Linked DNA regions of Homo sapiens: region 1 is linked to region 2. The links are contacts of gene promoters, found by promoter capture Hi-C in human tissues and cell types (Jung and others, 2019). All regions are on one chromosome and are shown on one strand. The core of a region is centred on a gene start or on the middle of the fragment in contact, and the rest is flanking DNA. Distances in the headings are between cores, read along the strand shown.

The links. Contacts are between HindIII fragments. The study calls those that stand out against the background at their distance.
Region 1: a fragment that was not itself captured here is called in contact with the fragment with the promoter of RNF113B in region 2 in 2 of the 25 tissues and cell types used here (IMR-90 fibroblasts and dorsolateral prefrontal cortex).

Annotation. Positions count from the first base shown.
Region 1 is chr13:98,389,504-98,393,058 of GRCh38, forward strand. FARP1 (FERM, ARH/RhoGEF and pleckstrin domain protein 1) reads left to right here. Exons shown (of 27, transcript NM_005766.4): 10 at 454-617; 11 at 1,309-1,377. Among named protein-coding and RNA genes, the nearest start is that of FARP1-AS1, 45 kb to the right of the region's middle. The HindIII fragment of the contact is 3,357 bases long and covers 1-3,192 here.
Region 2 is chr13:98,175,432-98,179,073 of GRCh38, forward strand. It overlaps RNF113B (ring finger protein 113B), which reads right to left and starts at 1,838. Exons shown (of 2, transcript NM_178861.5): 1 at 851-1,838; 2 at 354-745. The coding sequence starts at 1,805. The coding sequence ends at 732. All of the region lies in intron 1 of FARP1 (FERM, ARH/RhoGEF and pleckstrin domain protein 1), which reads left to right. The HindIII fragment of the contact is 2,632 bases long and covers 11-2,642 here.

The sequences.
Region 1 (3,555 bases), core at 264-2,763, 210 kb after region 2:
CCGGAGCCGTGGGCGACTTCACAGAGAAACGACGTAAGAGCCAACATTGACACGAAGTATGAGGAAGAGGATGAACGTTGCGTTTCAGTGATTTTAAGGAGGCAGGAAGGGACTTTCAGTATCTGGGTTTTGTTTTTCAAGGAAATGTAAGCCAAATAAACATAATTTGTATATGAAATCTGTCAAAAAATGGTGTCACTTCCATTGAAGCCACGTGGCTGTTTCTGTTACCCGTCTAAGAGATTCTGTGGGGAAGAAAATGATGGACTAGGGACCACATCTTGTCCTTAAGAATAACTAGAGTTTAGTAAGTCTTTGCACTGATGGTCATGCTATAATAAAATACACAGCGAAAACTTTATCGGACAAAGCTATCTTCTGCCCCTTTTCTCCTATTTCAGTGGTGTATCTATGGGTAATGGAAAAAACCACCGTTGTATTTTCCCTTTTTAGAGTGCGTACCAGGATACCTTGGAATTCCTGATGGCCAGTCGGGATTTCTGCAAGTCCTTCTGGAAAATCTGTGTTGAACATCATGCCTTCTTTAGACTTTTTGAAGAGCCCAAACCAAAGCCCAAGCCCGTCCTCTTTAGCCGGGGGTCATCATTTCGGTTCAGGTGAGGTCGCCACTTTGTGCCTCTGTTTGCTGGGTGCACGTTTTTCCTCCCGCCTCTCACAGCCGCTGTGACACACAGCAGGTCAGGGAGGTGAACGCTCATTGGCCTCCAGGAGCTATGGCCAAGCGGGGGCGCTTGTATCTTAATCCCAGTGGGCTCTGTTTGAACAGCAGAGGCACCAGGCAAAGCCACCCAGTCATGGTAAACGCCTAGCGGGAGTCTCTAACTCAGAAAGGATTTCTCTCTCAGTAGAAGTACAGTGTCTTACTAACATTTGGTGTTGCTTCATAGAATATGTGGACTTGGATGTTATTGGTGAACTTTTCCATTCATTTTTAACAAATCATTGTCTGCCATGTGTCAAATACTGTTCCAGGCACTGAGCCCAGTGATCCCTGCCTTCACTAAAGGCACAGGCTCTTGGGATGGTTGCTTAGTAACCAAACACAGTTATCAAGTGGGCTTAGTTAATTGAACATTTTTTCTGTATATTCAAGGAAAATATCAAGAGACTGAGTGGACCCAAAAATACAGAGTCTGTCAGGATTGCTTTTAGTCCTGGCTAGCCAAGCAACCCTGCATCTCTCCCAGTTAGGGAAGGAGGGGAAGTGAAGCCCTGAAGCATCATTTGTGTGTTTAAATGAGAATGCCTTGGTATTTCTCCCCTTCCCTGTTGTGGTCTCTGTTTCAGTGGTCGGACTCAGAAGCAGGTTCTCGACTATGTTAAAGAAGGAGGACATAAGAAGGTGCAGTTTGAAAGGTAAGAGAAGCTTCAATGCTACTTCCAGTCTGAGAAGGCTCAGACTCGCCAGGTAACAGTTTGTTGCTGCTAAATATTTCTTTACCCAGACTTCAGACTTGATGTCCCTTGAGTTGTAAATGATAGTCTCAGTCATCCTCAGCAAGTCCAGTGTTAGAGAGGAAGGTTTTAGAGCCCAGGGGCACACCCTCGAGAGTGAGATGAGAACAGACAGAAAGGACTAGGGGAGGCGGGAGAGGACATACTGGGGAAGGAGAGAAGGGCTTAGGACATCACAGTGGGGGATGAAGCATGATAAAAACTAGCTCACTGGTGAGTCCTTCAATATTTTGGGATTTGTATTGAAAGCATGTCTATGAACATTTTAATTAAATCAAGTAAATCTGGATGAGCAGAAACAGGATTTTTTCTTTCTCAAAACAGGGTCTTGCTCTGTTGCCCAGGCTGGAGTGCAGTGGTGTGATCACAGCCCACTGCAGCCTCAGCCTCTGGGACTCGATCAATCCTCCCACCTCAGCCTCCTGAGTAGCTGGGACCACAGGTGCCCACCACCACTCCCAGCTAAATTTTTGTAGAGATGGGGTCTGCCTATGTTGCCAGGGCTGGTCTCAAACTCCTGGGCTCAAGCCATCTTCCCGCCTTGGCCTCCCAAAGTGCTGGGATTACAGGCAAGAGTCACCATGCCCAGCCAGAAACAGGATTTATTATTATTATTGTTGTTGGTGTTATCAAACACTTGTAGCCCTTAGTGTGTGCCAGGCTGTTCCGAGCACTGGGCCTGAGTGAACTCATTGAGTCTTCACCTCAGCTCTGTGAGGTCAGTGCTCTTTTATTCCCTTTATAAAGATGGAGATACTGAGTCCCCAGTAGGTTAAATAACTAGTCCAGGTCTCATAGCTGCTAAGCAGTTTCTGGCCAGCCAGCCAGCTCCCAAGCCCAATGCTCCAAGGAGGAGCAGCAGAACCCAAGGAGGGTAAAGGAGCGGAGGATAGGCCTCAAGAACTAGTTACTGCATGTAGCGTTTTTAAAAAACTTTTTTCATTTTCATACATTTAAAAATTACAATAAAGTACAGGGAAGTCAGCAAACACCCAGATTCCTACTACTTAGAATTAACGGCCATTAACAGTTGGACACATTTGTTTCTGGGGTTGTTTTTTCTTCTTTTATTTGCAGCTCTCGTTACAGACATGGTAAAACCCCCTTGAACCACCAGCTCTGGTAATTTCCCTTCTCCCCTCCCCAGAGGCAGCTGCCACATTTAGGCTCCTTTCTGTATGCATATTACTGCATCCCAAAAGAGTGTGTAGAATTGCTCTGGAGGCCGGGCACAATGGCACATGCCTGTAATCCCAGCACTTTGGGATGCCGAAGTGGGTGGATCACTTGAGCTCAGGAGTTTGAGACCAGCCTGGGTAACATGACGAAAGCTCATCTCTACCCAAAAAAAAAAAAAAAAAAAAAAAAAAATTAGCTGGATGTGGTGGTGCATGCCTGTGGTCCCAGCTACTTGGGAGGCTGAGGTAGGACGATTGCTTGAGCCTGGGAGGTCAAGGCTGCAGTGAGCCAAGATTGTGCCACTGCCCTCCATCTCTGGGCCACAGAGCGAGATCCTGTCCCAAAAAAAAAAAAGAGAAAAAAGAAAAACTGCTCTGAGTGTGTTCTTTTCATTCATATAAGTACTCCCATATATAATTCTGCATCTTGCTTTTTTAATACTACCTTTTTTTTGAGATCTGTTTTAAGGGCCATACAGTAGTATGAAGATACTACACTGTATTTCTCTGATTGCCTATTGAGAACCATCCAGATTATTTCAGTATTTTGTTTTGATTTTGCTGAAATAAACCTGCTTCTGTGGCCATCCCTGCATCTTCCTTCTACCACAAATCTGTGGTGCTTTCTCATGCCCTGTCTCTATAAATGTCATGTTCAGGAGGTTTTTTTCAGGAGGTTTTTTTTTTGGAGATGAATCCCATAATTTTCCTGGACAGTCAATGGTTAGTATTTGAAAACCATGTAAGAAATAGCCCAGTTCTCTCTCTGATTCAGAATGTGGATCTCTAGAGCTTTTCTGTGCTAACCTGGAGTATTTTGAAGAAGAGCTGGATGTGCCTGGGAATAGAATCTATATTTACACAGTCTCATGAATTTCAGGACCTGAGCATTTCAGTGCCT
Region 2 (3,642 bases), core at 588-3,087:
TTTGGTAACTCTTGAACCCCATCCTCTCCACTCCCTCCCGGTCTTGGTTCCATCATTTCTTCCTTTTCTGATATCTCTTTTTAGCTTTTTTGAAAAAAAAAATTAATTATAGTACAAAACATAAAATGTACCCTTAACCATTTTTAAGTGTTCACTCATATTAGGTATATATATATTGATGTGTAACAGAGCTTTATAACTTTTTCATTTAGCAAAACTCAAGCTCTGTACCCATTAAACAACAGCTCCCCACTCCCGCTCTTCCTAACCCCTGACAACCACCATTCGACTTTTTATGTAATTTTGACAACTCTAGATACCTTATATTAGTGAAAAATCATACAGCGTATTGGTCATTTTGTGACTAGTTTATTTCACTTAGCAGTGTCGTCTTCAAGGTTCATTCTAGTTGTAGCATGTGATCCTTAAAAGGATCAGTTTAAATCTTTAAAAGGATTTCCTTCCCGTTAAGGCTTAATAGCATTCCATTGTGTGTGTGTATCGCATTTTGTTTGTCCATTCATCCATCCATGGACACTTGGGTTGTTTACACCTCTTGGCTTTTGCAAATAATTCTGCAGTGAACATGGGAGTGCACATACCTCTTTGAGATCCGGATTTCAATTCTTTTGGTTACATACTCAGGCATGGGATTGCAGGAAGACTGTCATCTCTCTCATCTTACTCAACAGGCTGCTTCTCCCCAGTGTACATACAGACTTGAGTCTTTCTTATCTCTTTTTTCCTAAAAGAACAAAAAAATTTATTTAAATGTGAGAATTATGGGAAACCTAAGCCATGGGAATTGGACACTCATGGGGGTCTTCTGTGAAATGGGACTTGCCCCCACCTTCTGCAGCCTGAAGCTTTTGCAGTTTCGCCATCAGTTCTTTGGCGGGGTTAAAGATGCCGCCGGTTGGCTGGTCACAGATGTAGCAGCGCGGGGTGGCCCGGAAGTGCTCCAGCGCGCAGCTCTCGCAGAAATAATGCCTGCACTTGGTGACGACTGGGTTTTGGAAGGCCTGGCGACATATGAAACACCTGAATGGTATTTCCTCTTCCTCGCTTCCCACTTCATGGTTTTCGTCCTCGCAGATACAGTAGCGACCCTCTTCAAGCTCCCGTTCAATCTCCCACCCGAGCTTGTAATCGGAACGGTCGTGGAGGAATTTGCAGCTGTCCCCGAAGCCACAGAAGCCAGTCTCCTTGTAGTCCTTGCAGATGTCAGGCTGGTAATCCCAGCGCACAGTGGCGCGCAGATGCCCTGGCGCACGTATGGGGCCCTTCCTCGCCATCCCCGAGGAGGAGTTGCCCATGGACGTGTCCTTGGGCTTCAGGTACCTCAGGTAGCTGTGGATTCCCCGGTAGATGTGGTCGTGCTCCCGACCCCGCAGTGCCTCCTGGACCCGCTGGCTGCACTTGAGGATGGTCGGCGTATGGTGCTCCTTCTCGGTGTCCTGCTCGAAGTCAGCGGTGGCCCCCATGTCCTCTGGCCCCACAGGCTTCGCCGAGCGGGTGGACCTGTACACCACGTCGAGGCTCTCAGGCGCCGCCTCCTCGCCCCTCCTGTCGCCGTGAGCCGCCTTCTGCCAGCTGTGGAGGCCCCGGGGCCTCGGTGCCACCCGCGGGGGCTGAGCCACTGTGTCGCCCTCGTCCCCGCTGCTGCTGCTCTCTCCGTGCTCGGGGTCGCAGGCCGGGCGCTTTCTGAGGCCTGCAGCCCCTTTCCGTCCAGGCTTTTTGAAGAGGAAGGTGCATACCTGGTCTGCTTGGTCGGCCGTCCTTCCTGGAGAAGGTGGCGCTGCCATGTTTGAGTCTCAGGCTCCCAACGGCCGTGGCGTGCGTCACCCTTGCGTCGCCCTTGCGTCGCTGCACGTGGGGCGTGGGCCCTCCCAGTTCTAAAAAGCAAAAGCAAGTGAAAGAAAAGCTTCTGCTAGGCCAGGCGCGGTGACTCACTCTTGTAATCCCGGGACACTGGGAGGCCGAGGTGGGAGAATCACCCGAGGTCAGCAGTTTAAGACCAGCCTGGCCAACATAGCGAAACTCCATCCTTACTAAAAATACAAAAATTACCTGGGTGTGGTGGCGTGCGCCTGAAGTCCCAGCTACTAGGGAGGCTGAGGCAGAAGAATCGCTTGAACCCAGGAGGCAGAGGTTGTAGTGAGCCGAGATCACGCCACTGTACTCTAGCCTGGGTGACAGAGCGAGACCCTGTCTCAAATTAAAAAAAAAAAAACCAAAAAAAAAGGCTTCTCCCGCCCTTCCCTCCCTTGACCTGCCTCCTGGCCCTCAGATGGATTCCTTGAGAGAGTCATCTTCACTTGCTCCTCAGCTCCCTCAGTGCACACTCATTTTTCAACAGATTCCTAAAAGGCCACGGGTGGAATCATTCCAGGCCATAGCGAACCGGTGGTGCTCATCCTAAAACACAGGCGCTTGAAATGCGTATTTAAAAGCAACACACGCGCAGTGCAGAAAACAAAAACAGATACAAGCAAAAAGTAAGACGCCTATAATCCCTCCCCTCAAAGATAACCACTGTCAACACTTTTGTGTCTATTCTTTTAATATAGCCTTTATTAAAAGACTGTCATATCACACTGCACCTGTGGGTGTGTAGCTGGCTTTCATTTTGAAATAAAAGTAACACATGTAAACATTTAAAAAAATATTATCAAGCACTTATTGTAATGGAAATTGGCTGTCCCCTGCCTGGCCCCTCCACACGCCAATTCCTGGTACCTAAGATAATCATTTTTAATTTTTTTTTTTTTTTTTTTTTTTTGAGAAAGAGTCTCGCTCTGTCGCCCAGGCTGGAGTGCAGTTACATGATCCCGGCTCACTGCAACCTCTGCCTCCCGGGTTCAAGCAATTCTCCTGCCTCAGCCTCCTGAGTAGCTGGGATTACAGGTGTGTGCCACCACACCCAGCTAACTTCTGTGTTTTTAGTAGCGACAGGGTTTCACCATGTTGGCCAGGCTGGTGTGGAACTCCTGACCTCAGGTGATCCACCCACCTTGGCCTCCTAAAATGTTGGTATTACAGGCGTGAGCCACTGCACCCCGCCTTCAAATATTTTTAACCCTTTTTTTTCTTGAGTTTATCTTCAAGTTGTGAAATAATTCATTTATATAATGTAAATGGATTCTAGTTCTTATTTAGCCAGTGCATGTCATAAAGTGTTACATGCAATTTCTTTTTCTAATTTAGGTTCTATCTCTTTACTTACTAGAATGGAAGATGAGATTCAGCTCACTTGTAGTGCCCCCAAAACACTGGCTGCTGTGGGATGAGGGAGAAGTTGTGTGGGTCTCTCTTCCTAGACACCAAGGCATCCTCAGCTGTTGGAAATGTGATGAATAAGCTTACAGTGTAAAGAACAATTCATCATTTGTCAGTTTTCTCTTAGGATAGTAATTCTAGATTTTTCTTCAACTGTTATCATCCCATCTTTCATGTTGGAAGCTTTTCTAAAATACTTGGTTATCTCCAGCTGTTTATACTTCAGAGTGAGGTGCCTAAAAGCTGGCTGGAATCCATCGGTATTGTTGGGCTTGTACACTGGACTGTCCTTTGTGTGATTCAGTTGGAACCCATCTTTTTTCTTGGAGACCCCCAGATGTTGGTGTCCATATTAGTCCGTTT